Regions from separate parts of the Homo sapiens genome. Here regions 2, 3, 4, 5 and 6 are each linked to region 1. The links are contacts of gene promoters, found by promoter capture Hi-C in blood cells and fetal thymus (Javierre and others, 2016). All regions are on one chromosome and are shown on one strand. Each heading gives the region's core, a stretch centred on a gene start or on the middle of the fragment in contact. The rest is flanking DNA. Distances are from core to core; before and after follow the strand shown. Region 1 holds the start of PCDH9 (protocadherin 9). Region 2 has its middle 380 kb from the start of LINC00355. Region 3 has its middle 390 kb from the start of LINC00355. Region 4 has its middle 440 kb from the start of LINC00355. Region 5 has its middle 460 kb from the start of LINC00355. Region 6 has its middle 470 kb from the start of LINC00355.

Evidence for each region. Contacts are between HindIII fragments. The CHiCAGO score rates a contact against its expected background, and 5 or more counts as called.
Region 2: a fragment that was not itself captured here is called in contact with the fragment with the promoter of PCDH9 in region 1 in 1 of 17 cell types (M2 macrophages); the score reaches 5.3 in M2 macrophages.
Region 3: a contact is called between a fragment that was not itself captured here and the fragment with the promoter of PCDH9 in region 1, in 5 of 17 cell types (M2 macrophages, megakaryocytes, M0 macrophages and 2 more). The highest score is 15.9, in M2 macrophages.
Region 4: a fragment that was not itself captured here is called in contact with the fragment with the promoter of PCDH9 in region 1 in 1 of 17 cell types (M2 macrophages); the score reaches 14.6 in M2 macrophages.
Region 5: a fragment that was not itself captured here is called in contact with the fragment with the promoter of PCDH9 in region 1 in 15 of 17 cell types (M2 macrophages, M0 macrophages, M1 macrophages and 12 more); the score reaches 47.0 in M2 macrophages.
Region 6: a contact is called between a fragment that was not itself captured here and the fragment with the promoter of PCDH9 in region 1, in 2 of 17 cell types (M2 macrophages and M0 macrophages). The highest score is 9.9, in M2 macrophages.

Annotation. Positions count from the first base shown.
Region 1 is chr13:67,227,425-67,232,577 of GRCh38, forward strand. It overlaps PCDH9 (protocadherin 9), which reads right to left and starts at 2,912. Exons shown (of 5, transcript NM_203487.3): 1 at 2,356-2,912; 2 at 1-1,151. The coding sequence starts at 1,016. RefSeq lists a silencer at 3,183-3,322. The HindIII fragment of the contact is 4,939 bases long and covers 1-4,579 here.
Region 2 is chr13:64,452,442-64,457,594 of GRCh38, forward strand. No RefSeq gene overlaps it. Among named protein-coding and RNA genes, the nearest start is that of LINC00355, 380 kb to the left of the region's middle. The HindIII fragment of the contact is 3,898 bases long and covers 481-4,378 here.
Region 3 is chr13:64,468,362-64,473,514 of GRCh38, forward strand. No RefSeq gene overlaps it. Among named protein-coding and RNA genes, the nearest start is that of LINC00355, 390 kb to the left of the region's middle. The HindIII fragment of the contact is 1,302 bases long and covers 2,518-3,819 here.
Region 4 is chr13:64,509,893-64,515,045 of GRCh38, forward strand. No RefSeq gene overlaps it. Among named protein-coding and RNA genes, the nearest start is that of LINC00355, 440 kb to the left of the region's middle. The HindIII fragment of the contact is 5,466 bases long and covers 30-5,153 here.
Region 5 is chr13:64,529,121-64,534,273 of GRCh38, forward strand. No RefSeq gene overlaps it. Among named protein-coding and RNA genes, the nearest start is that of LINC00355, 460 kb to the left of the region's middle. RefSeq lists an enhancer at 5,076-5,153. The HindIII fragment of the contact is 1,820 bases long and covers 1,957-3,776 here.
Region 6 is chr13:64,547,721-64,552,873 of GRCh38, forward strand. No RefSeq gene overlaps it. Among named protein-coding and RNA genes, the nearest start is that of LINC00355, 470 kb to the left of the region's middle. The HindIII fragment of the contact is 8,822 bases long and covers 1-5,153 here.

The sequences.
Region 1 (5,153 bases), core at 1,662-4,161:
GGAGTGGAGCTGCCGTCACTAGCCAGCACTGTCACTTTGTGAATGGCTGTCTCCTCTCTATCTAAGGACCTCTGAACTGTAATCAGCCCAGTAGTATTATTTAAAGCAAAGAGTCTTTTGGTTGCAGGGGCGACCTGGGCACCAAAAATGTACCGGATTTCAGCATTACTGCCTATATCTGCATCAGTGGCATGGAGCTGAATTACAGAGGTACCTACGGGAGCATTCTCTGGAATATGCACCTCCACTTGACCCTCTTTAAACACTGGCCTGTTGTCATTTACATCACTTACTGTGACCTGCAGTATGGCCGTACTGGATTTCTGTGGAGTGCCTCCATCCTCTACTTTGATTTTCATCACATAGGTATCTTTCTGTTCTCTATCCAAGTTTTGCTGAACAATCAGTTGTGGCCACTTCTCTCCCTCTGGAGTTTCCACGATATCCAGTCCAAAAACACTCTGCCCATTTAACAATTCATAATGCTGTACACCATTGAAGCCTGTGTCAGGATCTGTTGCTGATGGAATTGGAAAGCGGCTGTTGATCAAAGTGTTTTCTGGAATGGAAATATTGATGACAGGAGATGGAAACATGGGGGCATTATCATTGGTATCCTTGACAATTATTTTTATTTTGATCAGCCTGAAGAAATCATTGGGGAGGATCACCACCTCAAGTTCAAAGAAACACTCATTCTCCTCAGCATATGAGGCGCCAGCACAGAGTTTTTCTCTGTCTATTCTGTTGGAGGTTGTGAAAATTTCCCCAGTGCTGCTGGAAACTTTCACCAAAGGGGCATCCCCAGCTTTAGAAACCAGTCTGTAGACAAGGCTGGCGCTGGTCCCTGTGGCAGCATTGATGTGAGAAATGTTCAGATCCTTTGGTATGTTTCCTATGGGCACATTTTCAGGCAATTCCTCTCTAATAGTGTAAATAAGTTCTTGAGCTATTGCGGAATCCAGCCTTAAACAGGCAATCAGAGCAGCCAACAGGTAAAAATCCCTCAGGTCCATGATAATGTATTTATTTTCTTTTCCTGGATTTTAGGGTTTAAAGGTTTCCACTGAGGAATGATGCACAAATTGCAAGAGGAAGCGTGCATGGACTGGAGGATGCATTATATCTCATCACTTATTTGGAGACAGCCGCTGTCAACACAATTGTATAGACAATATTATTCTTCAGTAAATAAAAACACACCGTCACAAAATATCACCACACATTTTCCCCTGAACATTAGTAAACATGGCAGTTTGCTCTGCCACTGTTTGCAAGTTTACTCTGTGGAGAAAAACACTAAATATCTCCTGCTGGTTGCATTTGCCGGGAGAAAATAAAATTTTCTACTTTTGAATTAAGGACAGCTGCTATTTTTACCTATATTCACGCACGTTGTTTTTCAGAATACTGTTTAATTCAAAACATGCATTCTTGTTCTCCTCTTCCCCTCCCCCTGTCTCACCCTCCTCCTAGCCTCTAACCTACCTCCCTCAGTCTTTTCAGGTGCAAGTGAAAAACACTAAGTATTTAGCTACGGTTCCTGCTAATTGCTTTGTCACATGTCAAATGTGTTTTCTTCTCTGCCCCACTGAGTCACCTATCTTTTCTAAAAAGGCTATCTTTTTCTTTCCTCCCAGTTCTTCAACTGCCTTCTAATACAATCTTACTGGGAAACGAGCATCCGGACATGCCGCTGCAGCGGCATCAGAAGCAATAGTCACCGGCCTCTACACATCCTCATTGCCTAAAAGCACAACAACAAGACTTCAGATTTCTTGCCCACAGCTTGCTCTCCTTTCTCCATATTGACAAATTATCCTCATTAGGATTCATAAACACATTAAAACTTTTAAAAATGTATAATAATATAGGATTCATTTTCCTAGAGGTGGAAGAGAGTGCCGAGATATAAGTGAAACGCAGCTAACATTCCCATGTAACATCACAATATTTTCTACTGAACATAAAAGAGAAAAAAAATGCAATTTCTTAATCCTGATCTCTGGTTAGAATATTAGTAACATTTGCCACACATAAATACTGCAACCCAATCATGCAGGTAAAAAGGCTTCTGCTTAGATAACTGCAGTTTAAATGGGTGCAAGGCTCCAGGCAGCTACCTACTTGAGTAGGACTGGTCAGTTCTCAGGCTCTAATCTTATCTGCATTAGGCTGCACAGTAGCTGATGCCCGCGATTAGTTCCGGCAGAGTGATGCAGGTAGGGATGCAGATACAGCCGAGTAGGTGAGCTCTGCCCCAACCGTCTACCCAATTACAAGCATCTTTCGCCTACACTGAGGACACATCTAAACACAGAATTTACAATTGTGCATGCGAAACTTTACACTTACGTTAGTTGCCTCAACCTTTCCCCTTTCCCAGTATGCTGCAGTTAGGAATGATTTGTTCCAACACATAGAAAGCCATGCATCTGGTAGCACCAGTTTGGGGAGAAATCAGAAGCAGCAAAATGTTTCCTCCTTGTAAAATGTGTTGCTTCGGGCTGGCAAATTAGCAACTCCAGAGAACAAATTCACGGATTTGTCGTTAGTCATTCTCTCCACATTTCGTCTCTCTTACCCACTGGGTCTGGGTTCTTCTGGGCATTTAGCACACACAACACATAGTTGCACTTCTTCAGCTCAGGGATATTTTCCACAGCAGCATGCATACCATTTCCATCCGATGCCAATACTGCTTAAGTCTCTAACTTCTTGTAGGAAACGTCAGAGTTGCGGTGATGATGATTCTCTGACAGCTATCCGGGTGACAGTTGCCCGAAAAATTCCTAATCGGTTATCTCTTGCGTGCTTCAGAGACTCTGAGGCGCTCCTTTCCGTCTCGCGTGCTCTCCCTCTCTCCCTTCCCCTCTGCCCCTCTCTCCTTCTCCCTCTCCTCTCTCTGAACTGAATTTCTTGATATAACTCTCAATAAGCCCAGAGGGAGGGCGTGACTGCCCAGGCCCCGCCCCCGGGCTCTGATTGGCCTGCATCTTGCGGCGCGGGCGGCCGCAGCCCGGCGCGAGGGAGGGAGCGCGGAACAAGGCGCTGACTGTCTCCCAGCCTCCCCTCCTCCGCGCCCCCTCGGCAGCAGCGAAAACCCGGAAATCTGATCCTGGCCCCAGGAGAGCCGGGTTCCATGAGGTGCACTGAGCATGCTCTGCAGGGTCCGGCGTGGGAGGGACGCGCTGGCGCTCCCCAGGCCCGGGCGGAAGCGGCGCTCGCAGGCGCTGAAAGCGAGCGACCCTCTGAGCCCGGGTGGTCCGGCGGGCAAGGGCGGCGCGGGAGACCCGCAGGGCGCGGGCGCGGATCCGGGGAACCAGGGCCACCGCTGCGGGCGGATGGGGGTCACCGAGGCGGCTCGTCTCCAGGCGCACACTTCGCACATCTCTTTGCTAAGTGAAGGGGCCAAAATGCACAGATGGGGGAGTCTACCCAGGAACAGAGGCGCGAGACGTATAGCCACCCCTGGGTTGGGAGCACGAGCCAGCAGATCCCCGGAGCGCGTTAAACGGACAACATGCCCGGTGCTGCAAATAGAGGCTTTTGCTGGCAGGGACATTGGAAAGAAGGGCGGAGAGGGAGTACAGCGAAAGGTGGGGACCGCAGAATTTGGAATCTCTGCGGAGACCGGAAAGAAAATTAATCGGAGCACTTCCTACATGCAGAGCCACGGAAACTGCCTTGGAAAGAGAAAGTGGCAGCGTCTGGGTCCCCTCGGTCAGCCCGGGCCAGTCGGCTGCGCGTGCGAAGTCTCCTCTAGCGGAGCGGGACCGGCCGCGGCGGTGGATCGTGGCGGTCCCTGCACTTCTGCTCCAGCCGCGCCTGGAAACCTGAGCCCGGACTCGCGGCTGCTGCAAAACCCGCTTCCAGCCCACCTCACTGCGAACTTTGCTTCCGAGGGGCTGGAAGGAGTCCCAGGCAGCTGTTTCCCAAGCTGTGGAACACTTCCTTTCCCCTAGGCACTTTCTGCTGATTCCAACTTTCTTTCCTGTGATTTTCGTCTTTTCCCGTGCATTTCATTTCTCCGACTCCAGCTCTGTACTAAATCCTCACAAGTTTCTCGTTTTCATACGGGAACTGGATGGAATGACTCCCCAAAAAATACAGCTTTATTTCTCAAATACTGACCCCCAAAGCACTATCTAGTAATATATTTGATTGATCTTTCAAAGTCAGTAAACCACAAAGGTTTGTGTAATGGCTTGTACTTAACGCCTGATACCTGAGTAAAGTTTGAAGCATTAACATAGGAACAGTTCACTTGGAACAAAAATTTATTTTCTGAATGACCTATAAAGGTTGTCAGAGAAGGTCTTAGTACATGATTGAATAACTTGGTCTAACTTACAGGAAGAATAAAGGGCATTTATTTTAAACCTGTGTGTTCCCCATTCTATAATGGGCTGCCTAGGCATTAAAGGCTCTTGACATACTTAAGCTCTTGACTGAGGGCGTGTTGGAGATTACCCCTTGTTTTTGAGTACAATAGTTTTGTTTGCTTTTTTTCTTTTTTAAGTAACATTTGTTTTTAGACGTTTAAATGAAAAGTAAAAAAAAAAAAAAACACCAATCAAGCTTACTAAGCCATATATTGAATAAATAATGACATGATTTAACCAACTAATTTGACATCACAATTTTCCAACATGAAATTGTAAGCTCTTTTTAATTCAAACTTTTCTGAGTTAATATTCACAGTTCAACTGCAGTGTCTAAAAGCCCACTGTAAAATCCATTAATCCCTTATATGTAAAATATAAAATACTTTCCTTGCAGATAATAGACTGATATTTTTTAAATAGCAAAGCAACTTTTATTATAGTAATATTTTGTATGATTAGAATATATAAAATTCAAGAATAGAAAGGACTTACAAGTATCCCAAAGTGAAAAGAAAAATATTGCCTCACAGAATAATGTCAGTGAATGAAAGGATGATTCTTTTATCTTACCACAGTAAACGATCATTTTGCCATTCACAAAATCTACAATTAAAGCTAGTACATTGTTCCAATTGTCACCTATTTTATGCACTGCACTGTTTTTAAATAAATGAACCATCATTGTGATACATTTACAATAAACATAGCAGCACAGCCACTTTCCAGTTCATTTCATAAGCACCACAGTTATATCATATTCTTATT
Region 2 (5,153 bases), core at 1,180-3,679, 2.8 Mb before region 1:
ACTAGAATATGTCTCTGTGTATGTGAACACATAACTTACATTTCATAGTATTTTTTTTGGATTGTTCTTGAAATTACCATTAACATTGATTAGCGATTATCTGCATTAAGAGGAGACATGAAGGATTCTTCTGTTTGGGTGCACCTTATGCTCAGATAGAGGACTTAAATAAAGTCAAATTTCAACCATTGTGGGTGTAACATGTTTAAAAGAATATTTTCAAAAAGCTTGTCTGAAATTTGCAAAAATAACAATTCATAGAGAGCATGATATAACCATTATGATCATTTTTTGTGTAGTTTATGCTGCCTAAGGAAATTGTGTCCAAAATTGCTCTTTCGTCAGGCATTACATTTTAGGAGAAAATAAAGTTATCTAGATTTGAGGCTGCTTAAACGTGGAATGTAAGTACACAAAATTGGAATAGAAGTGAAAATATATACAATAAAATAAATCCAGTCATTGTTTTATATTTATTAAAGCTTTGGGTAAGTTTAATAAATATTTGTCCGAGGTAAGTATCAGAACTTAAGATATTTTATTGTGGTCAGCTGTGAATACTCATTGACTTTATTACAGCCTATATTCTTTGAAGACCTATGATTATAATAGAAAGATATTTTAACATCTTCTTAGAAAATGTTATATATGCTATCTATATAGAATTTGCTTATTTCTCCAGTCATTTAAATCTAATTCATTAAAAGTTGAATTACTGTTGTATGAAAAGGTTTTAAAATGGATCGATTAAGATAGCTGCATTATAAGGATAGAATTTCAGTAAAGCCCAGTAAATTGAACTATCTTTAACTGTGATTTTTTTAAAAGTAATTCATTGAAATAATCACTTATATACACACAGAGGAAATGTTGATTGATTTATAAATTAATAGTATATCAGAAAGATTTGGGTTTTAAAAAAGCATCAATTATTTTTAATTATTTAATATTTTAAAATTTATTATATAATGCTGATAAAATTGGCACAGAGTCTCACTTGTTTCACGTAATTATTATAGTAGTGGGTAGAAAAATTGTGAGAATATACTCAAATACAAAATGCTCTGTGGGCATCTGGTTCAGAAAATAGCCATTTTATTAAAATCATAGCATTGGAAAGAAGTGGGAATGAAAAGATGTCCTTTTAATAATAATCAATTTAGTGAAAACATTGTGAAAATTTGTACACAACTAAGTCACAGTATTTTAACATTTACTAAATTTTTTTAAAATAATAAATCCCCTTCTCATAAAACTTTCTGAAACCAGTTCTTCCTTCTGACTTCCTTTTTCTATTTATTTCATCCAGTGAATAAAATGGAGTCTTGGAGTCATTTTTACCCTTTTGCTTCTATTATCCTATTTCCCTTTACTTCTTACATCTCAGGGATTTCCAAGGAGCTTTGAAAACAGCAATGTAGAACATGGTAGGTTGGATGAAAAGGCAGCCTGGAAATATGCAGGAAGTGAATATTTAACGCCTCTGTACACTGAGACTAATTAGTTACAAGAAATATAAGAAAGCCCAGCCAGTTGTACAGCATGCAGTGCTCAGACAGTGCAGTGGCAGGATGTATCTGGCAGTCCAGATGGGTTCCAGCAGGCAGTGCATTCCAGCAGGCAGCCTCAGAGCAGAGAGTACTCAAAGATCCAAACCAGGACAAGGGCTTAGAGACAATAGGCATCAAAAGAGACAGGCGGCAGGTGTCAAGCCCCGTTTCAGCAGTGAAACAAAAGCAAAAGCCCAGAACCTAATAGAACTAATGACATTAATCGCAGTACCCATGATGCTCAGATACTCAGTTCTGATGTTGTTGTTGCTCTGAGCTACTTGACTTAATGCAGAATTGCTCAGGTGTCCATTTTAGAGACCTTAGCTTTTCTCTATAGATGAGACCTGAATCATACCCCGTTTTTTTGAAAAGATATTCAGGGTCTTTTTACACTGTTCTTCCATGTCTTCTGTTGAGAACTGTCAGTTCTGCTATTGTTGAATGTGTCTTAACAAAAATAAAAATTTCCAATGTATTCTTCTCCTATATTAATAATATCTTCAGTGACTATTCTACTTGTACCCCTTTCTTCTTCAATCCAAACTAGGTAATGTTGCCTGATTAATCTGCTGGACAAAGTAAATTCAGTAAATTCAGTGGCTCAGACTTGTGTACCAAATTAGATGTGAATGTTTCTTTATAACGTTCAAAGTTCTTTAAAATAGAAACTCAATTTACTGCTCAAGCCTCATATCTTATTATTCTAGTATCATGTCTTACTCAGCTTTTACATGTAAATTTGCTTCACTTATTCTGAAGAATTAGTATTTACTGAGTTTTTAAATATAGGTTTTCTAAATTTATTTTGATTTTCTTCTTTCTGCTAAAAATACAATCATAAACTTTAAAACTGCTTTCTTCCAATAAAAGTTTAATCTCTCCATAAATGGTCACCTGCTAAGCCAAGTTCTCCGTGTGTCCTTTCATTATCTCCTGATTCCAATAGAAATTTACTTTTTGAGCAGGGTTGGTATGGGGGTGAGATTGTGAACTACTTACAGATTTTTCTCACATTTGCCTAAAAACAGTATGGGCTGCTAACATAGGCAGAGCAGTTAGGGAGTAATGAGGGTGGGGGAAGAAGAGAAAAACAGAACACATTCAATCTATACAACTTCTACTTAACAAAAATTGCTGAAATTTCATTAATAACGCAGAGATTCAGGTCAGCCAATGTGACCTGCAACAAAAATTCTTATGGACAGGTTTTGCTATGCTTGTTTGAAAACAAATGTATATTACATACATACATACATACATATATTCACATAGTCATCGGATTGGAGCTGCCTGCTTTGAATTTCTACAGCTCTGGGCTGCATTTGTTTCTATAATGACATCTGTAGTCAGATTTCTCAAGTTCAGTTCCTTGCCCAGAACTACTTGTTTATTTAATTTCAAATTTATACTCACACTGCTTTATACTTAGATTTCCATATGTTGTGCCATTCTGTCACTGAGTACAGTATGTGGAGTACAAGGTGTCATATATTTATCTCATTTCCATAATTTTTCTTATACTTTATTAGTCTGGATACCCATAGTTTGGGGTTTCATGTAATTAAAACTGCAATAATTCTGGTAAATTAGGGAACATGATTTAGAACTCTCAAAAAGTACATCCACTTCTAACTTTTACAAAAGTTATGCATTTCAAAGTAAAGATTTTTCATAAGAGTTATGATATCTCAATAGGGCAATTTTAATTAGTTAATGTTTAATTGACATTGAATTAATTAGTTAATGTTTAATTGCCACTGGAAAAAAAATGTATTCTGAAGATAACATTCTCTCCTTCTCTAGGAGGTCCAAGACATAAATTATAATGCATTAATATGTGGATTTTAGTCAGTGTCAAAGTATAGGGAAAATGGAAGCAAACATTAAAATGCACAGAATAAAAGTTAACATCACTAAGGTTAACTGTCATTAATATAACATTTTGGTTTCATGGTGTTCTTCATTACTGTAGTTGTGCCATGCTGTGTGCTTTGAGTATTTTAATTTTTAATATATGTCAACATCGCTTCTGACCTCAGGTTTAAATTTCAATTCAAAGCTCTATGATGCAAATACCTTCAAGAACTTCCCAAACATAAATTCAGAAAGAAACTCCCTTTTAGTTTGAATGTAAACAAATGTTTTCAGGGAAAAATGTTGATGCTATAAATATGATTATTCTTTTATAAAAATACACAAACTGTTTCATCACAAACAGGCAAAAGTATATTAAAATAACAAAAGCTAACTAGGGTTGATCAACAAAGAAAAAATTGTTTTTACAAGTCGAATCTACATTTCTACAAGTTAAAATCCACCAGGAGGCTTTTAATCCAAGGAATAATTTTTTTAATTTAAATCCATAGAAATGTTTGTCAAATTAGACAGTTTTAAACATTTATTTATAGTGCTTTTTAACAGTCTTTATTTCCTAATTGTGAATAATAATGTTGGTGAATTGCTACAATTCATTTGAATCTGTCTTTCTTGCATTATACAAGAAAAACTCACCAATTTTTAAATTTAAATTTAATTTTTTTCTTACCTAGCAAATTACCAGAGGAAAAAAGGTTGATTTGAGATAAGAGATTGCTTTCACAATAAAAATATAATCAGAACGCAAATCCCTGAGTCTGAAGTTGTAAAATGATGTGTGCATGATGGGCAAAAGAGACCTGGGAGAAATTGAAGGTTTCTAACAGCAATGCCTGACCTCAGTGGAGTGCTTTTTCACCTGCAAAGTGACACTCGCTTAATCCTCACTGTAGGAAAATTTCAGGGCACGTATCCTTCTCTGTTAACAATAGGGGATAATTTAGATCAAAAGCTTTCAAGTGTTCTACCTAAAGTCAGGGAGTGATTAAGGCATGGAATAAAAACAAAAACCAAGTTTCTAAAATTGCAAGACTGATACTATTTTCATTGCACAAAACATTTTCAACCCTGCATCTCTCCTTAAAAATGTGATAGAAGTAACTTCTTTCTAAATTTATTTCAGAGGTTTTAAGGGTATAAATAATTTCTGAGAATAAAAGAAATAGCTTTATAATTCAAATTTATTTTAGACATATTATTTACCCTTTAATTTACCTTTTAATTGGAGGTTTACATTATTTCTTTAGGACAAAGAAAAATCTTTATCCTTTCTTGCAAACTTTGGTTGATTTGTCTTTACTTTGATCACGGCATAATGGAAATGTATAATATTAGAATGTTTTTGTGACTGATAGACTGTGGAAATTCCTTTTTTATGCCTCAGTAGGTTTTAATTTCACTATTTCAATTTCCCAAATTGTATTTAGTTTAGAAATACACCATATTGCTTACTGTTCCAGCCCTCTATTAGTTTTTTCAGTGTTGTAACATTGATTGTTTTCTCAGATCTCATTTAGCTAGTTTCACCCTTGAAAAAGGAAATGCAGTTTCTGTCAATGCTATCTTAGGGTTATCAAAGGGCTAAAAATTTCAGATAAATATCACAGTTTTAGGCAATATTTTTAAAAATAATAAAGCAATGTGATAGTCTCATGATGGTTTTTATTATCCAAAATTATATTTTTACTTATATGTACCTTCCTATGTTCTGCTAAACATAGAGAA
Region 3 (5,153 bases), core at 1,919-4,418, 2.8 Mb before region 1:
AAGTGGAAATATTTCCTTTAGTGTGAGAAATATGGCTGACATCAGGACAAGAGGGATTTTCTATGACTAAGCTCATCTTTCCCCACAGAAATTCTACAGGCAAGTCAAATTACACCTACTATGTACATACATTTACATGTAAAGTATTGTTTTAAGTGCTTCACCTGGCATTATCTAATTTAACTCTCCCAGTAATCTCATGAGGAAGATATTCTTGGTAACCTCATTTCACAGATGAGGAAACTAAAAGTCAGAGAGGTTAATTTCCAGTAAAATAGCTAGATAATTGGAGGAGCCAGAATTTGAATTCCAGTAATCTGGTTTGGGAATCGCTACTAATATGCAACATGTTACATTGCCTTTCTTAAAAGGAAGTATGATTTGACAATTTTATTTTCAGCTGCCTAAGATATCTTGATATTAATTTCTCCATAGTAGAGATACATTTGGAACCAGAAGAGTCTAACCTTTGGATCAGAACCCATTTTTTCTTAGACAATTTTTCAGTAGGTAATATAAGAATTTGTGATTATTCTCTATTTTATACATTTCCAACATAGTATTCTTTTTAGATATTTAAATATCAACATCAAGTTATGATCCAGTTCTAATTTTAAAGGCTTAAGAGGCAATTTTTGGTGGCCTTAATATCTTTTCTTTGATTCATTTCACACTGGTTTTATAATTTAACTCTCAGAGTGTTCTATTAATCGCAAATTATTAAGAGAGAAAAGTTTGTAAAACTATTCTGGTAACTGCTAAGTTAAGATGTCTTTAACTGCTTCTATTTTGCAAGGGCAAATGGGTAAATTGTCTTTTTCTCCTTATTCACATTAGGGAGATAGAAAGAGTAGAGGAGAATCTTTCTTTCTTGTCAGTTTTCCTCTTTTCCATATTCTATAATGAGAGTTAAACCAAAATGATAAACAACTAGAGCTTTAACCTTATTCATTATTGCAACCTCTAAGGGAAATTCTGCTTGACGTCTTTTAATTTTGCAATTAACAAAGAAAAATTTGACCTTGTCTGAAACTGTGTTTAATTGCCCAAAGTTCTCATTTAAAACAGTCTCTAAAGATTTGCACACCAGACCTCCCCACCACCCCCCACCCAGACGATCTTTTACTGCTATTGCAGCCTCAGTTCTATTGTACTCTGAGAGTGATTCAAGGTGAAATCCTGGATCTACATTGACTGTCTCTCTCACACAGAGTACGTCATTTTTCTTTGTCTTTTCTATAAACAGAATGTGCTATTCTTAAATTAGTTGCTGAAAAACTAAAGTATACAGAAGTGGAATGACTTAAGTAATAAATATACAGTTTTAGGTCTCAAAAATATTAGGTATCTTTTAATCCAGTATTTAATTTGAGTCTCTAATTTAACATGAGATTTAAGTAGGTCAGATATTGTATTAAATGTATAAGTGTAGAATCTGAGGTTCAGATATATTAAGCAACTGACTCAAAAACATAAATTCCCCAAATGAGGAATCAGGCATTTAAATCAGTATCTTTCCGATTCTCCCCTTCCTCTACCTCAAGATCACACGTCTGTTCAATCATTTAGACAGCAACAGACTTGTCAGAAAACAAAGCTAACATTTTCAATTCTGATATCTAGATTCTTTATTCCGTTTTCTCATGTGTCATTTATTTTGTGATTGTAATAAACCTTCGTAAACTAATTTTATATATGATGCTATAAAATACAAATCTTTAAAGATAAAAATATCCAAATGTAAAAATGAAATTATATAGAATTTGCATTTGCTTTTGGGTAGAGAAGGGGCACACTCTACTATTCATGTGATCCATATGTTTGGAAAAGCATCTGCACACCAGGAAGGTAAAATCTACTGCTGGAAACTGAAGACCCTCAGGCAGTGGTTATCTGAATACTAAGTATTTAGTGATTATGATGGGAAGGCAGAACAGGAACTTGTCTAAAATTCTGGGCTACCTTGAAAAGTCTTAAAGTGATAGCACACTTACTTCCAGTGCATTTCTATCTGAGGAGAAACGTCAAGAATGTACTCAGACTTAAAAAGGCATAGATTTTGGTCTATTTACATTAAATGTTTAAGTTAAAAAAGCACATGATGGAGTTGAAGAAAACTTGGTGGGGTATTAAATAAGAGAGATGCATCTTCCCCCCTGGCACTTACTGAGATTTAGAAAAGTCGTGCCTCCACTCTGGATCTCAGATTTCTGATCAACAACAAGAATAGGTAATGTGGGATGATCTCAACAGTCTCTTCCTTCTTTGAATTGCTTTTTCCCTCCTTTTAATCAACTACCATGCAATCAAAGTATGTTTACCAATCCAAGTTCTGGTTTACAGCACTCAGATAATTAAGAGACCCCTGCTCTGCTTATTTTCCCACATCATTGATTAAATTAATATCAATCTATTTCCACCATGTGTTTATCAAATAGTTTACATTTACTTCTCTTATAACTGTTAAAAATTGGATTACTATCCCCACGTTATAAATGAGTATATAATGCTTTAGAAAGCTTTAGCTACTTCTGTAAATTTTTCTTGCCAATGGCAAGAGTATCCTGGGCTTAGATCTCTGGTAATCTGACTTCCAATTTGTATGATGAATTTCTTAGCATCAGTTTATTTTACACATTCAACAGGACTCTGACCTTGTTCCAGGACCTTGCAGAACTGAAAAATGGAAAGATAACTTATTTTGAAGCCAGATACACCTGGGATGCATGTCTGTTATCATATAATTTAAATGATTTACTTCCCATATTTATTAATTGTAAATTTATTTTTTACTTTGTAAATTTTTGGATAAACCGAAAGGGGAATTGATGATACATAAAATTTTATGTACAACTGAGACAAAATAGACACCCTATAAACTGGTGGCAAAAGGGACTCAGTTTAGACTGTCATTTATGTTCCCAACAAGTACTACCAATATCTTGGCAATTTCTGGGAACAAAACTGATTTTCCAGGAAACAAGGGAATTGAAATGTCAAAATTAGAGAGGTATTATTTTGATTGGACCAACATAATCTATTTCAATATAGATATTATTTTAAAATAATAGTATTCCTTTTTCATTTAGCTTTTTAATTGAGAAAATAAGCCCAATCTCTTTGCTATCAAGTAAATTAATAGAACAATAGATATATTATTGATTCATTGTGAATCAAGATGTTTATATAATAGGGAAATTCAACTAAACTCCTTATGTATTTGCAAATCTTTTATTATATTCTGCAAACTAAAAAAATAAGTACTGCTTATATTCATAAAACTAGAGTATACTTCCATATAGTCAGCAAAATATATATATTTATGTTTATATATATGATAATAAATAAATTAATTTGAGCTTAAGGAAAGAGATGCTTCATGTCAATTTACATTGCTCTGTATTTTTATGTTTATATGTGTGGCATTTAGGAGATTTCTTAAAATATATCTACTCAACATAAGAGGTTTATATGAATATGATTAAATACACAGTAATCTATTCATTATCTTAATTATTTGCATGGAATGCAAATTATAGTTTGAAGCTATTCAATGTATTTTTGGAAAAGTCATGCAGAGCATCAACATTAAACAAGTATTTGCTTTCAATTAGGAATGTGTGACTTTCTTAGAACCAATCATTTGAAAATATAATTTGCACGCTAATTGTAAATTGCAAAGTCATCTTCTGGTTACACTGCTTCTAGGTCTTCTTTTTTTATGTTAATTTTAACTTTTCATCTCTAGATGGTGCTCTAAGTACCTGCATTGCAGCTAGACATGTTAACAACACTGGGATAAAAGGCAAAAGAAACAAAAGCTTAAAAATAAAAAGTGTACTAGAACCAAATAAATTAACTTAGAAAAATTCTTGGAACTTTCGCTTTAGGCCAGAAAAGCATATGTTGTCAGGTGATTAAGCCCATAACAGAGATGTTTGAATGCTGTCCTTATTAGAGTTAGGAAAACAACTACTGCAGAAAAATATTTAAATAGAGTTAGCAAATTCAGAATTGATATTTTTCAAACTAACTTATATGCCCTTTTTTACATCTATGTGTTGTATGCTAAATACTTGGTAAAAGAAGAAACAAATATACCTAAATACATTATATAACTATGAAGCAATTTTATTCAAGTTCTTTAAGATATCTTGGGACTAAAAACCATATCTAAAAAATGGATAACAAATAGCTAATCAGTTTTTGGTTTTTTAGAACTGTCTATTACTGACTGGCTAACTATGATCTGCAAGCCACACCCAGTCCATTTTATTATTTTGTCACATTCTAAACTAAGAACGCTTTGTATATGTTTAATTTTGTTTTTAAATCAAAAAATATAATGTTTGGAAACATAAAAATTATAGAAAACTGAAATTTCAGTCTCTATAAATAAAGTTTTATTGGAGCACTGCCAAGCTCATTTGTTTAAGTGTTGTCTATGGTTTCTTTCCCACTATGACAACAGAATCTAGTACTGTGACAGGGACCCTATGTCCTGCAAAGCCTAAAATATTTATGTGTCCTTTACAGAAACATTTTGCAGACTTCTGGGTTGAATGAAAGTTGTTGACTGTTGAATGATCTTGTTCGCTGGTAACATTGTTATTGGGAAGAAAGCCAAAACAAGCTGAGCTCTAAACTAGTACCCTAAGTTAATATAATACTGTCATGTCAATAGGAAATTTTTAGTACATTTTAAATTTAGTACTTTAAAGAATGTCTTTAATAAAGCATCTTCTGAAGTTTATATCTACCCAGGAACAAAATAATATATTCAAAGATTTAAAATTCAGCCAAAGTCATCATTTGGCATCATGTAGCCAAGACAACAACAATGCAAACTCAATAGAATTTTAATGAATTTAAATGTGTTTTGTGAATCTGCTACTCTGGACTGTGTTTTATCCTATAATTCTCCCCAATGTGATACTAGCATATTAATGAGAATTTGGTTCTCCTAAGTATGTTAGTTTTTATCAATTGTTCCAACAAAGTATTTCTTTTGAAGAAAATTACAAGAATGTTATTTCTGCTGCTACACTTCAGAGCCTTATCACTCCCCTCTTTTATAATCCCTCTGACCTTTATTCTTATAATTATGTTATCTGTACTCCGAGTTGCAAATGAGAGAAACACAAATTCAAACC
Region 4 (5,153 bases), core at 1,513-4,012, 2.7 Mb before region 1:
ACTTCTTTGCTTTTCTCTTCTTCAAAATAAGCTTTTCCTGCCTCTTCACTTGAATGAAGTCAAAAGTATCCATTTGCAGTTCCTGTATTGTTAGTTATTTTCTTCCTTCAATTTTTATGCTCTAAAGAATGAGTTTTATAGAAAACATATTTTAAAATATATATTTTAGCTTATATTTTGACACTATTTAAGGCAAATATTTCCACAATCCTCCATGTAGGATTTTCAACATTTATTTATTCAAGGAACATTTACTTAGAATCAGCAATGTGCTTGATAGATATCATAAATTTTGACCAAAAAATGACATGACAACTAGCAGTCAAAAAGATAGAATCAAGTAGGAAGAGAGGAAAGCAACTAAATTACATATGGTAAGTTACATAATATGAGAACATGCATCTTAACTTTCTTATGCAATGAAATAAGAAATCACAAAGAAGGCCATGTTGGAAAAGTTGGAAGGATCAGTATGTCCTTTTCAGATGGACAAAGGAAAAGGATATCTGATGTAGAGGGGAGAGAAGATACAAAGGCAAGTGCATTTGAAGCAGCATTACTGGTGAGGGGAAAGAGAAGTTATTCATTAAGGAAAACGCATGAGGTGCAAGTTAAAAAACTGAAAAGAAATTGCTTAGATAAAAAGTCAAAAGATAGGTCATAAATCCATTAGATAAGTTAGTAGATAATGAAAATCATACATGCTAGTCAACATCTTTTGTTTTCACATCTAGCATCCAATTATTTTTTACTAATGTACCACAGTTTTCCTCAAGATAATTCATTCTCACATTCTTAAAGATTGGGTGAATATTCTTTGTATCCAGGCTCAAGTGCGTGACTCAATTTTGGCCAATCAGAGCAAAATATTTGATGATCACAGTGACTTTTTCAGAGGTTGGAGCATGAAGTACTACAGACAAATTATATTTAGAGTTTTCCTTTGTTTGCTTTTTCCTGTCACTGTTGGGAGTGAGATTGGTCATTCCATTACCAATATTCTGTCACATTTAGAAAATGCCAAATTTCCTAGGAAATGATGATAATTTTAGTAAAAACTAAGCAATATGTGCCAAAAGTAGTGATAATTCCTCTCTGGAGAACAATAACGTGACCATAGTCCAAAAAAAGATTCCCACAAAAAATTATATAAATAAAATGCCTGTGACACAGTCAAAAATAACCGCTTATATGGTAAGCCAACAAAGTCTGTTTGAAAAATAGCAAGGCATAAAAATAGAAGGCTAGTAAAAGAGACTCATGAAGAATCAAGATGTTAAACTATCACAAATTTTAAATTAATTATGCTGTCAATAATCAAAGGGGTTTAAAAAATTGAGAATTTTGGCAGAGAACAGTACATCACAAGGTGAAAAAACCATAAAAATTCTAGAATTCAAAAATAAAACAACCAGGAAACTTCAGTCTTGTCAGTTGCTTTTTTTGTGTTAATTTAAATGATCACGTTGATTTTACTTTTTTAGTTTACAAATATAATAAGGAGAATTGATTGATTTTCAAATTCATCTTTGAATACCAACCCCGTATCCCTGGGATAAATCCCAGTTGGTTGTGATATATTATTCTTGTTTATTATTGAATTCAATTTTCTAATATTGTGTTTAAAAATTATGTATCCATGTTTATAAAGGATATTATAATGTCTTTGTACATATTTGGTACAAATATATACCATCATATGAATAAAACTTACAAATACTAGGCCAAGAAAACCAACATATTAGGAATATAAAATGTACAATTCCATTTACATAAGGTTAAAATTAACAATAAAAGAAAATTATATTATGGAAAATCAAAGTTAAAAAAAGCAGCAGAGTGATAAGCATAAATGTCAAGATAGTTGCTACTTAAAAGGAAAAAAGGTTGTAAGGAGGAATAGTGATTAGGATAGTGATTAGGGGCTAAAGAGGACGATGGGAGCTGGAAGGGTTTCATTCTATTTTTTATTTATCTTTTATTTTAAGTTCTGGGATAGGTGTGCAGATTTGTGGCACAGGTAAACTTGTGTTATGGGGGTTCATTGTACAGGTTATTTCATCACCCAGTTGTTAAACTTGGTATCCATTAGTTATTTTTCTTGATCCTCTTACTTCTCCCACCCTCCACCATCTGATAGGCCCCAGTGTCTGTTGTTCCTCTCTATGTGTCCATGTGTTTTCATCATTTAGTGCCCATGTGTAAATGAGAATATATAGGATTTGGTTTTCTATTTCTGTTTTAATTTGCTAAGGATAGCTCCCATGTGTAAATGAAAATATACAGGATTTGGTTTTCTATTTCTGCTTTAATTTCCTAAGGATAATGACCTAGAGTTCCATCTACGTTCCTGCAAAGGACAATATCTTGTTCTTTTTTATGGCTGCATGGTATTCCATGGTAATGAATATGTACCACATTTTCTTTATCCAATCTGATATTGATGGGCATTTAGATTGGTTCCATGTGTTTGCTATAAGAACAGTGTTGCAATGAACATAGGCATGTACGTGTCTTTATGATAGAATGACTTATATTCCTTTGGGTGTATACCCAGTAATGAGATTATTGGGTTGAAGGATAGTTCTGTCTTTAGGTCTTTGAGAATTGCCCACTGTTTCCCACAATGGTTGAGCTAATTTACACTCCAATGGGAGAAATATAAAATAGTGTATAAGCATTCCTGTTTCTCCACAACTTCACCAGCACCTGTTTATTGACTTTTTAATAATAGCCATTCTGATCAATGTGAAATGGTATCTCATTGTGATTTTTATTTGCATTTCTCTAATGATCAGTGATATTGGACCTTTTTCACATGATTGTTGGCCACATGTATGTCTTCTTTTGAAAAGTGTCTGTTCATGTATTTTGCCTATTTTTTAATAGGGCTGTTTGGTTTTTTTTCTTGGAAATTTGTTTAAGTTCCTTTTAGATGCTAATATTAGACCTTTGTTAGATGCATAGTTTGCAAAGATTTTCTCCCATTCTGTAGATTGATAGTTTCTTTTGTTGTGTAAAAGCCCTTTAGTTTAAATTAAATCCCATTTTTCAATGGGTGTTTTTGTTGTGATTGCTGTTAGCATCTTTCTTATGAAGTCTTTGTCAGTTCCTACATCCTAAATGGTATTGCCTAAGTTGTCTTTTGGAGTTTTTAAATTTTGGGGTTTTACAATTAAGTCTGTAATCTACCTTGAGTTGATTTTGTAATATAGCATATGGTAGAGGTCTAGTTTCAGGCTTCTGCATATGACAAGCTAGTTATCCCAGCACCATTTGTTGAATAGGGTGTCATTTTCCCATTGCTTGTTTTTGTCAGCTTTGTCAAAGATCAGATGGCTGTAGGTATGTGGCCTTATTCCTAGGCTCTCTATTCTGTTCCATCGGCCTTTGTGTCTGTTTCCGTGCCATTATCATGCTGTTTGGGTTATTGCAGTTCTGTAGTATAGTTTGAAGTCAGGTAGCATGATGCCTCCAGCTTTGTTCTTTTTGCTTAGCATTGCCTTGACTATTCAGGCTCTTTTTTTGTTCCATGTGAATTTTAAAATAGTTTTTTTCTAGTTCTGGGTATTACACCATTGGTAGTTTCATAGGAATGGCATTTAATCTATAAATTGCTTTGGGGAGTATGGTCATTTTTACAATATTTATTCTTCCTATCCATGAGCATGGAATGTTTTTTATTTCTTTGTGACATCTACAATTTCTTTGAGCAGTGTTTTGTAGTTCTCCTTGTAGAAATCTTTCACCTCACTAGTTAGCTTTATTCCTAGGTATTTCATTCTTTTTGTGGCAATTGTGAGTGGGAGTTCTTTCCTTATTTGGCTCCCAGCTTGACTGTTGTTGGTGTATAGGCATGTTAGTGATTTTTGGATGTTGATTTTGTATCTTGAGACTTTGCTGAAGTTGTTTATCAGCTGAAAGAGCTTTTGGGCTGAGACTATGGGGTTTTCTAGATATATGATGATGTCATCTGCAAACAGGGATAGTTAGACTTCCTCTTTTCCTGTTTGGATGCCCTTTATTTTTTTTTCTCTTGCCTGATTGCTCTGGCTAGGACTTCAATTACTATGTTGAATAGAAGTGGTAAAAGAGGGCATCCTTGTCTTGTGCCAATTTTCAAAAAGAATCTTACTGGCTTTTGCCCATTCAAGAGCCATCTATGACATTCTATTTCTTAAATGGTGTGTTGATACAGATGTGTTCATTTTGTGAGAAACTGCTGAGCAGGGCTTTGGTTTTCTGGGGATGAGGAGGTACATTTTGGTATGTGCATTATTTCTTATTTTAACAATAAATGATTTAATAATCTTAAATTACCTTTGTAAATTAAAAAAAAGCATTGCCAAGCTATACAATTCTATTTTTCAAATTAGAGTGTACTCAATCTTGGTCTTGAAGTTCAAAGTTCAGATTTAAACCCTAAAGTTGTGATCCACAGTCATTTTTACAAGTTACTTTCATCTCTCAGAGTATTGTTTTTATCTTTAAGATAAAAAGAAAAGTTTTGTTTTGTTTTGTTTTGTTTTGTTTTTGTTTGTTTGTTTTTTTTTTTTTTTGAAACAGAATCTCCCTCTGTTTCCCGGGCTGGAGGGCAATGTGGTCATCATGGCTCACTGCAGCCTCCCAGGATCAAGCACTCCTCCTGCCTCAGCCTTCCAAGTAGCTGAAACTACAGGCATGTGCCCCCACATCTGGCTAATTTTTGTATTTTTATGGAAACTGGGTGCCCCTATGTTGCCCAGGCTGGTCTCAGACTCCTGGACTCATGCAATCCTCCTGCCTCAGCCTCCAAAACTTCTGGGATTACAGGTGTGAGCCACTGCACCCGGCCTAATGAAAACTTTTTAACAAGAAAAAAAAAACACATATCTCAGAAGTTGTTATGAAGATTACATGAAGTAATGTTGATTTCAGCTCAGAAATACACATGCCCAGGCCAGTCTCTTCTGCCCTGTTTCATTGCTAAAGCCTGTGGTCAAGGCACCATCACTTTATAAAATAATGAGTCCAACATCTGGATTCCTATGCTTAAATTTTATTCTCAAATTTAGTTTTCTTTCTATAAAATAAATTAATAATACCATAACCCTCATTTAGCATTTTGTTTGGCACCCCTTCACTATAGGATAAAGTTCATTTTTCTTTTCATG
Region 5 (5,153 bases), core at 1,617-4,116, 2.7 Mb before region 1:
AACTGAAAACAAGTTTAGCAGGCACCTAACATCTGTTCTAATGCTTTTAAGTATTAAAATGTGCCACACACAGAAGGAAAAGTGCATTCTTTTCAGGGAAGTATTTTGCATAGATTATTTATAGAAACTGTAATTAAACTGATTTGGCATATTAAAGAAAGTTAACAGGAGCACATTATTTAGATAGTTTGTTGGAGTCTGTCACTTAAATAAGGCATTAAAAATAGAAATGGGAAAAGTAAAATTAAGTTTTGTTTTACATTTCAGAAATATTGTAAGAGTAATTGAAATTTATTTTCATTCAAAAATGAGATGAGATGGTTAAATTTTAGTCTATGCAGGTATATATCCAACCTTGCAGCTGCACCCAAAAGTTTGTTTCATTGCAAATTTTATAAAATGGTTTTGGTACTTGTCCAAACATTTCACTTAAACCCCTAAATTTACCTTAATCACATGTACAGATGATTTTCTCTTAAGTGCTTTTTAGATATGGTTTTGTCAAATGGTAAAATAGAATGTATTAAAGAGAATCTGGATTTCATTATTAGCCTTCTCGTTTCATGCTATTTTCCACTTACGTTAGATCCTTTCATGCTATGTATTGATTGTTATAATGACAAATTTCTCAAATATTTTGCTGTTTTCCAATCATCTCAATAAAATTTGCTATTCAATAAAATAAATTCACTTATTTTACAAAGAGTTGCATAGGGGTAAGAAAATTAATTTTTCCTTCAACTCTCATAGGTTCTTAGAAAGCACCCCTGTAATAAAAGACAGACTTAATGAGAGAAAGAAAACAAAACATGACCCATTTTGTTGCGTCTCAGAAAATAATACCCACAAAGTTTGTTGCTTTGGTATGCTGAACACCTAAAACTTCTATAGGGAGGCTTTGGAATTGGCCTGGAACTCGAAAACTTTCTGACCTTTCCTGTTTTCCTCCCACCCCCCAGCAGGGGGAGTTTTTCTCTGAAATTTCCTTACTACTTTAAAACCATACCTACCACCAAAAACACAATTGCCTTTTGCCCCCTCCCTGAAATGTCACTATTTCAGGTAGAAGAATGAGAAATGTAATCACACCTGGACAGTTTGTCACAAGATATTGCCTGTATCTCAGACTCATTTAAATTCCAGAGAATCATTTAAAACATAATGTCTGCTTCCTGGGTCCATTTATTTTCCCTAAAAGTTTCTTTCCCCTCTAAAATTGCTTACAGTTCCCCACTTGCCTCTCCCCTGTGACAAGAGTGAAACTGCCTTTGCAAAATTATAGCTAAGGAAATTATGACAGTGAAAGATATCAGACTTAACCAATTCCATCTTGCTTGTAACTTCTAAACTGTCCTTATCCATTCTTGGGTGTAGGTCAAACTAGGCTTGGGAAGGAATTTAGTTCATACTTTAAATAATAGTCCTTCCCAAAAGCTAAACCGTTCTTGTAAAATGAACGAAAGGCCACCAGCTGCAAAGTAAGGATGAGAGGGACTGCAATTCTAACTATTACTAACCATTATTCCAGAGGTCATAATATGTGCAACTTCTCCAATTACTGTTGAGAATAACATCACTACTATGAACTTAAGATTGGCCTGTCAAGATGTCTTTGCCAGTTTTTGCATTTCTGACAACCAGATGGCCCCACCTGGACCTGCCAACCAGTTCTGTGGCCCCCACCCAGGAACTGATTCAACATAAGAGGATAGCTTTGATTCCCTATGACTTCATACCCGAGCCAACCAATGAGCTCTCCTGACTCACTGGTGCCCTACCCACTTGATCTCTGAGTTTTCAGGGAGACTGATTTGAGGAATAATAAAATTCTGGTCTCTCACACAGCCAGCTCTGCATAAATTGCTTTTTCTCTATTGCAGTTCCCTTGTCCTGATAAATTGGCTCTGTCTAGGCAGGGAGCAAGGTGAACCCACTGGGCAGCTATAAGAGTGGTTAAGCTTCAATTAACTGGCCCTATTTCCACTCTCATATTTTGTGTGGCTCCTGTGCTTAAGTATGTTAATACATTTTTACACCTTTTCACCTGTTGATCTGCCTATTGTCAGTTTATTTCAGCAAACTCAATCACTCATAGGGAGAGGAAAAATTCTCTTCACCTGTATAATATGTACATTTCATATATACAGAGGAGACACCCAGGGAATGAGGAGTTACCAAAGAGGTAGTTTTGAATTCCAATTTATACAGCATTGTCAACCTTTGTTCTTTAACAGTAAATTTTTACAGAAGTGACAAGACAAAAAGAGAGGACTTGTAACTTTTGAGAAGGCCAACAAATGGCAGGTAAAGGCTAGTTACTAAAGCCTAGTAATGTAGATTTTGCTAGTCTCTTTTTCTTGTCTCTTTTTCAGATGATAAGCATCTAAAGCTGTTTTCAGTAGTTAAGATTTGTTCTCCCTTCTAGGGAGAACTTTAAATTATTTGAGCCTCGAGAGGAACGTGACGCTGTGGCTTGAGTCACGTGACATGTTGTTGCAAATTCTCCTTTAACTTCCTTTCTTATTCTTGTATTGTAGATGATTAAGAAAGACTTAAAAGCACCATGGAAAAGAGCCCCCATGGGTCTAATACCCCTTTTTAAGTAATGTTAAAGCAATCTTACTTGTGATGTAGCAAACTGTAATCAATTAAATCACTATGATGTATGTATTGGCCTTGTGTGGAAAATGCCGCAACTCTGTTAAATTTATCTATCTCTGCCTATGTAAGTGAAACTATAACTTTCCCACTTTGGAGCACTGACCCCCATTCTTTTAGAGTCTTTGTTACCCAAGCGGAGATCCTCAAGTTTTGAACTTGAATAAACTCTCTACTTAATCATATTTTCTAAATCTCATTGTTGAAAGTTGACATCCTTCATTTAGGCAAATAGGAGGGTAGAGACCTTTCCTGCATCTGCTTATTCTTAATTGTCTTCGACTCAACAATACTTCATATTTGGGGGTGGCATACTCTGGTCTTCAACAGTTGTTAAAATCTGTGTTTACCAAAAGTAAGAGTCAAAGAAAAAAAATCATAATACTGTAAACAAAGTTTAAGTGAAAATACTTACAATTTCTATGATTCTAAATGGAACACGAAACTTGAAATCCATTCTAATATTAACTGTCATGTCCTATTTCTGCATTTAAATTTTGCATTTTTATTGTAAACATCTACAATTTTGTTTATGGTTGGAGTAATATAAACCAGATATTTTGCAAAATAAAATAAGATTATGTTCCAGAGAAAAAAATAAAAATAAAATAAACAAAATGAAACAAAAAACTAGATCACATTTTAGTGGGCTATAGTCACCATACTATTTTTTTTTCTTTTTTAGTACAGGAAAATAAGACAAGCTAAATGTGACTAAGTAATTTTTTTTTTTGGTAGAGAAGATATTAATGCTGCTATTTTAGCCTATTCATATGCAGAAAATCATTATAGCTAGTTATAGCTAGATAATTTCTATTATCCTTAAAATACCACAATATTGTGTAAAATGTACTGTTGTAAACATCAATGGCATTTTAAATGAAGTATTATATTTCTCTTGAAATTTTAATTTTTTTCTTCAAGTGGCGAAGATTTTTTGCTCAACCCAATGTTAGTCAGCCTCGTGAATTTTCTCCTAAGCTCATCCATGTGTGTACCTCCTAGTAAAATTATCTTGTATCAAGAACTCCGCTAAATCGGTTTAATAACAACCCCCCCACATCCTTCATATCTGATCACCCTCATCCTCTATTATCTTCCAGATGAGTCCACATTCAAGCTTGTGGACTCAAGATCACAATTGGCAGTAGCTCACCAGTTTTGGGATAGCAAACCATTTCTCTTTTTCTTTCCCAGCCATCACTGTTTTACTGTCCTGATTTTCAGTGAATTTGTAACCAACTCCCTGTTTTAAGTGTTTCCAGATGAGATCTCTAACATAGCTTCTGTTTTCCTGACAAGACCTAAATATTAAAATTGCCAGTTGGTTTTTATCTTCATAACTTGCTTAGATTTTCCTTTCTCTAGAATATTATTTTCTCTCTGATTTTAAATTTCAGAGTAGCTTCGAGGCCTCTGACACTATTTGTGTGTGTGTGTGTGTGTGTGTGTTTCTTCATCACTCCTTATAGATCACATGAACATTTGTTCCTCCAATTAACAGTTATTTACTATAAGACTTCACAAATTAAAACACATCGTACACAGATAAACAAATAAAATATGTCTTTTTGATTCCTAAAATTGTTTGGATGGATTCTCTGTATAGCAGTGGAGAAGAACAAAATGCTGCCCAGATCCTGGAAGCTTAATGTGGTACAATTATTCAAACAGTTCTTTAGGTAAAATTCTCAGATTTTCCTCTCTGAACCCTCTCTCATCACTCTTTACCCAAAATGTTGTTTGGGAATTGGTGTAGTAAGTCCTCAAAAATCATATGTGGATTGAGGAGACACAGATATTGAAATCCACACAGTATTCTCAGTAACAACACTCCACGCCCCACCCTGGGTCTCTGTTCTAATGTGATTTTAACCTGCCCCTGGGATGGGGGCCTGAGGTAAGGCAGATTCCATCCTTGAGAATTTTGCTGCCTACTGTTGCTAAAATCTTAGGATGGTTTACTTTAAGTCCTGTCTCCCTTACGATAGGAATGTCTTAGCTTCTTTTCTGGAAAACATAGCCCTTTCTTGATTCTCACTAGACACCCATCTGCTTCTTTCCTTGTCCTCCATTTGGCATAAGAACTGAAACCAACATAATTTGACTGTCCCGATTTTACACAATAGTGAGAATAAGCAAAAGAAACTTAGTTACTGTCTCCAGGAAATAATTGCTTCTGAATAATAACACTGCGAACCACCTCAAATAGTTTATTACGAACAGTTCGTCAGGATTTGCTTCAAGATTCTTACGTCAGGGTGTTCACTTTATTCACCAATTCAAAACTATTATATCATAATATGTCTCCTCCTAAGTCCAAATAAAATATTTTCCCATGAATTTTTTCCTTTTGAGATAGTAATAAGACTCTGTCAAATTGATATTTTCTCTTACCACATTAAATCTAAGAACTTAGCTATGGGTGATCAAGTTTTATTTGTTTGCATTTGTTTTTGTTTTTGTTTTCCTAGTGGTTTTTCAAGGACTCAACA
Region 6 (5,153 bases), core at 956-3,455, 2.7 Mb before region 1:
AATATTAGCTGAAATTTTTCTTTTAGGTATAAAATTTGGGTCATGAAATAACAGATTAAAAATAAAATATAATCATTACTCAACTTTTACTTACATTTTAGTGATTAAGTACTTACTTTTATTTATACTAATGTTTTGCCATGGTTAATAACATTGCTGCTATGTATGTGATTTGGTAGACTGCAGAGGGAGCTAGCTGAGATGCGTTTCTCCAGCTATGCCTTAAACCTTTTTCACAAGTTCTGTAAACCTCACTTGACTAATCCTTGGAATAGCACTGTATCTCTAACCGTCTTTCATCCCTTCCTATGATATCCAGCTCTATTAATAAAGAAATGCTAGGCAGCAAAAAACACAGGAAAATATGTCTATTTACAGTTACTTTTACAAAAATAAACCCAGAAATTCATAGTATTTCATAACAGACATTCCTATGACAGGAAAAGTACCTACAGGTTTATTTGATTCAACATTTAAATTTACATCCTTAAATGTTCCCAACTTGTTCCCCCTTTATACTCTAGCAATGTTGTCCTTGGCCATCTCTCTTTACAATCACAAAATGACTATTACAGTTTTTCCTAGTACATAAAAACACAAGAACATCCACCATATATATGTGTGTATTCATTCTCACTGTGTGCGTGTGTGTGTGTGTGTGTGTGTGTGTGTGGTGTGGGGAGTTGTATCTTATTATGTGTTTCTTTTCAACCCTTTTTCATTCCCTAAAAGTTGCTCAGCAAACTCCCCCTCCTCCCCCTCACACCTTATTAACTACAGCTCTAACAACTCCCTATTTCCTGGTAAGGGGAATTGAGCAGGGCTGATATTTATCTGACTTGTACCAACATGTGGCCTTTCCACTTGTTAAATATTGAAATACCTATGGATTCCTTCTTGTGGGGCTCAGAACACAATGACTTAAAACATGGCAGCTTGGCATAGTGAATATTTTAAGCTGAAGGAAATTGAGAAAACTGAAAATGCAAGATCTGACCTTCTCCTTCCCTTCTCCTCTGAGAGCCTCTTATGTGACAGGTGTCCTGTCCTATACCCTGAGGAAAGGAATAAAGACATACAAATGCAAAGAAGAATCTGAGCAAACAGGCATTGGCAAGTTTACCTCAGTTGTTACCATTATATCATATTCTCTCTTGTGCAGTCATACTTCTACATGACTTTCCAATCATCAAACTTAAGCACAAAAATACAGTTTTCCCTGTTTCTTTGGGTATCATTCCTGAAATCTCTTATGTCATACAAAATTTTTACTAAATAAATTTGTTAGGCTTTTTTCTTGTTTATCTGTGTTTCTTATAATGGTGTTACATGGTTTGGCTCTGTGTCCCCACCCAAATCTTATGTTGAATTGTGATCCCAAGTGTTGGAGGTGGGGACTGGTAAGAGGTGATTGTATCATGGGGGTGGTTTCTAATGGCTTAGCACCATACTCCTAGTGCTGTCTTGTGATAGAGTTCTTACAAGACCTGGTTGTGTGCAGCACCTATCCCTCGCTCTCTCTCCTGCTCCACCATTTAAGAAGTGCCTGCTTCCCCTTTGCCTTCCGCCATGATTGTAAGTTTCCTGAGACCTCCCCAGCCATGCTTCCTGTATAGCCTACCAAACTGTAAGTTGATTAAACCACTTTTCTCCATAAATTACTCAGTCTCAGGTAGTTCCTCATAGTAATGCAAGAACGAACTAATACAGTTGTCAGCCACGAACTTTTCAACAGGTGAGAAAAAAGTTGTGTTTCTTCTTTCCTACACTTGTCAAACAACTGATGCAAATCCACCTAATGTTGCTAGGATCCTTACCTCAGTAGCGCTTGAAAGGCAGTGCCTGCAGCTGCAGGAAGATGTATGGGAACAGACACAAAAACTCTCCCTCCCAGATAAGCAAGACAGAGACACAGAAACATTCCAAGCCTGTGATAAGCTCTCTTGCCCTAAACTCTTAAATATTCTTAGTCTGTAAAACAGTGCTCCTGACCTCACTCGGCCAGAAGCCCCTCTCAGGTTTATTCTCCACAATAACCCGGCCTTTGACTGTTGAGCTGCTTTTTGTGTTTCTTTCTTCCTTCTTCACCTCTTACAGGCAGCCCTCTCATATTCAGTATCTCATAGCAAGAAGCCTCCATACTTCCACTCCAGTGGTAAAACAGTCCTCCATTCCAATTGGTGGATGCCTTTGAAGTATCAACTGTTGAATATTTTGCAGTAGGTAAGGGAGGGTACTAGGGAGAATTAGGATTACTGTGCTTAGTATTACACAGCTCATGGATACATGTAAGTTACTGGGTTCCTTACTAAAATCAGTTTTTTGTTGTAAAAGAAGAAAGAGGAAATGAATGGTGACTAGAGTATCTACTACAACAAGCAATATAAAAGCCCTCATTATATGTGTAACAATAAGAACTGTCTTTTATGGGTGAGGCTTCCCAAGGAATTCCTGCATGCTCTATTAATAACTTAAAGGACTAGCTACCTAGCCACAGAAGAAAGCTGCCCTATTCCTTGCAAGTTACCACTTATCATATTATTCAATAATTGTTCTTCTGGTTATTGTTGTTGTCAAAATATAGATACATTCCTTATGAATACACACCTAACCCTAAACCCTGAAATATGTAAGACTAGTCTTAAAATCCAGCAAGACTTCACTGAGAACTTGAGAAGCACAAACAGGAAGCAATGTAGGGAATTTTCAAGAACAACAAAAACATGAAACAAAATGTGTATCCTAGACTCTATCCAAGACACAATTGTCATTGACTTATTGTTCCTTAGACTCCTGGCTATTGTTCAGTTATAGGAGTCAGTTTCCTTTTAACTGGGTGAAATTCCTTAATCATCTCCCCTTGGAACTAGAGCCTAGTTTCTCAACTGCCCTTTCACTCTAAGTGAGGAAAAAAATAAACAAACTCTTTAATCTCTTGCATAATTCTATAAAATAGACTTCAATATTATCATAATAATAATCTTGCTGCAAGGAGGCAATTTTGCCCAGAGGGAAACAATTTTCGACATTAATATGCAGAACAATTTGGTATTGTTTTAAAACCTTATTTCAATTAAAAAATGTTTCTTTCTCACTTCTATCACCAAAGGCCCATTTAAGTGATTCCCATATTCCCACTTTCTCCAAAAGTTAAACTTCACCCCAACAAACGTTGTCTCTAACTAGAAAAACTTTGGAATTACATTTCTTCGAGTTATCAATTATTTGATATTGGAGCCCAGTCTCAGAAGACTGTTTGTAACAGTGCCTTATAAAATATCTCTAAAATTAGTCTTTTCAGCAGAATATAGCATATAATTCAACTGAAACATAGTCAAACTGAAGGAGCCTTAAGGTGATATTCAACATGGTTGAAAATATAAACAGTTTTGTTTACCCTCAGCACCAGAAAATGATCTTCAATAGATCTATTTTCAGTATCCTGCGAAATATACCAGAAATGCCTCCCTCACCCAACCCACATGCTTAGGACTAAATGAAGACAACAAACAAATTTGTTGAGAATGAATCTGTGTGCCAAATTCATAAGTTTGAAATATTAATAAAATAAATTTTCCTATTTTGTGATCCTGCTTGCTCCCTTGCTCATTTTAACAGAACATCATGAAGTGTTCCATGCTCATTGCTCCAGGGAAAGATAAGTGAGTCTAAAGAAGTCTAATTTTTGAATTTCACATAATTCGTCTTTGAGGAAAGTGGACATAATTCAGGGCATAAACAATAGGCTTTTGGAGACAGACATGAAAGAACAGGTGATTGCAATGCCTCTTCAGACTGGGAAAGGAATGCCTAAGTTGAAGGTAAGAGATGAGCATGGATGCATAGTGGGTAGATCAAAACATATTTCTGCAAAAGAAGTTATCATTTTCCTGTTCCACAATCCAGGTCGAAGAGGGATGAAAACACCCCTGAAAGTGTACAATTTAAAAGAGTCAAGGCAATATAGATTTTGCTTTTCATGTAGAACTAGAGAGTGGGAGGCAAGAGCTAGAAATCTCAAGAAAAAAATAAATGGCTATATGAATAACCTAAGTAGATGATCTTAAACAGTCTCATATGGTTTCTAGGCAGAAGTGTGAGAATGATTTCTTTCAATGGGACTTTGAGGATTAAAATGAAGGATGATTCAATGGCATCCCATATGCACTGATGACTAAGGACATGACAGGATGATGAATGTTTTAGTAAATACCATCATGGACAGATGATGATGAGAACCAGATGGCACAGTTTCAACAACAAGTAACAAACAATCCAGCTGTCAATGACTTAAGCAATAAGGGCATTCTTTACCTCACGTAACAAGGATTCAAGGGGCCTGATTACTTTAGAAGCACAATGATGTCATTAGGATCCTGGAGGGTTTTTGTTCATATTCCTCCCAGTTAACTTTAGGTGTTCAGCTTTAGTTCTGTCTTTCCCTCAAGCATCATTAGATACCTACCATTGATTCTTGGCAACATATTCACTACACTGCCTCCAAAAAAAGGAGGATACATTCTCCTTGAAAAATATTTTTGTATAAGGGAGAGAAAAAAAAAACACTTGCCTGGACACCTAATGTCGTCTTCCTATTTGTATTTTAGAGACCATGACTAAAGCTAGGTGAAATGCCTAAAGCTAGTCAACTGTCCTTGACTTTCTGTCATTTTCTGGCCTCTATAAAAGAAAGTATTTGTATTTTTTAATGTGATGATTAGTCAGGCATGATCACAAGAGGAGACACAGGAAAGGCTTAAGTAAACAACATTTATGATACTCACCTAGAGACAGGTGGCATGAAATGTGGTGACGGGCAGGTAGGAAAGACACCAAGGTGCTCAGGAGGCAGAAGAGACGAAAGAGTGGGGAAGTGCTTAGGCCATGGACTTATCAGGAGTTTACTAGAGAAAGTCAGGGCAGGGCAGGGAAAACAGCTTAGGATTGGTTAGCTTGAATAATTTTAGCAGGATTTAAGCTATAGGGGTAGTCTCTAGTTGCCTGGCACCTGGTCCTGTGATAATTAAGGAATATTGCCTCTTGGGGTGAGCAGGTCAGATAGTAGAGACATTATTGGTTTGGTTAGGGTGCACATCAAAGTCATGCTTCTGGCTGGGCCTTTTGCAATTTTTAAGAATTGACTAGCTTATGGA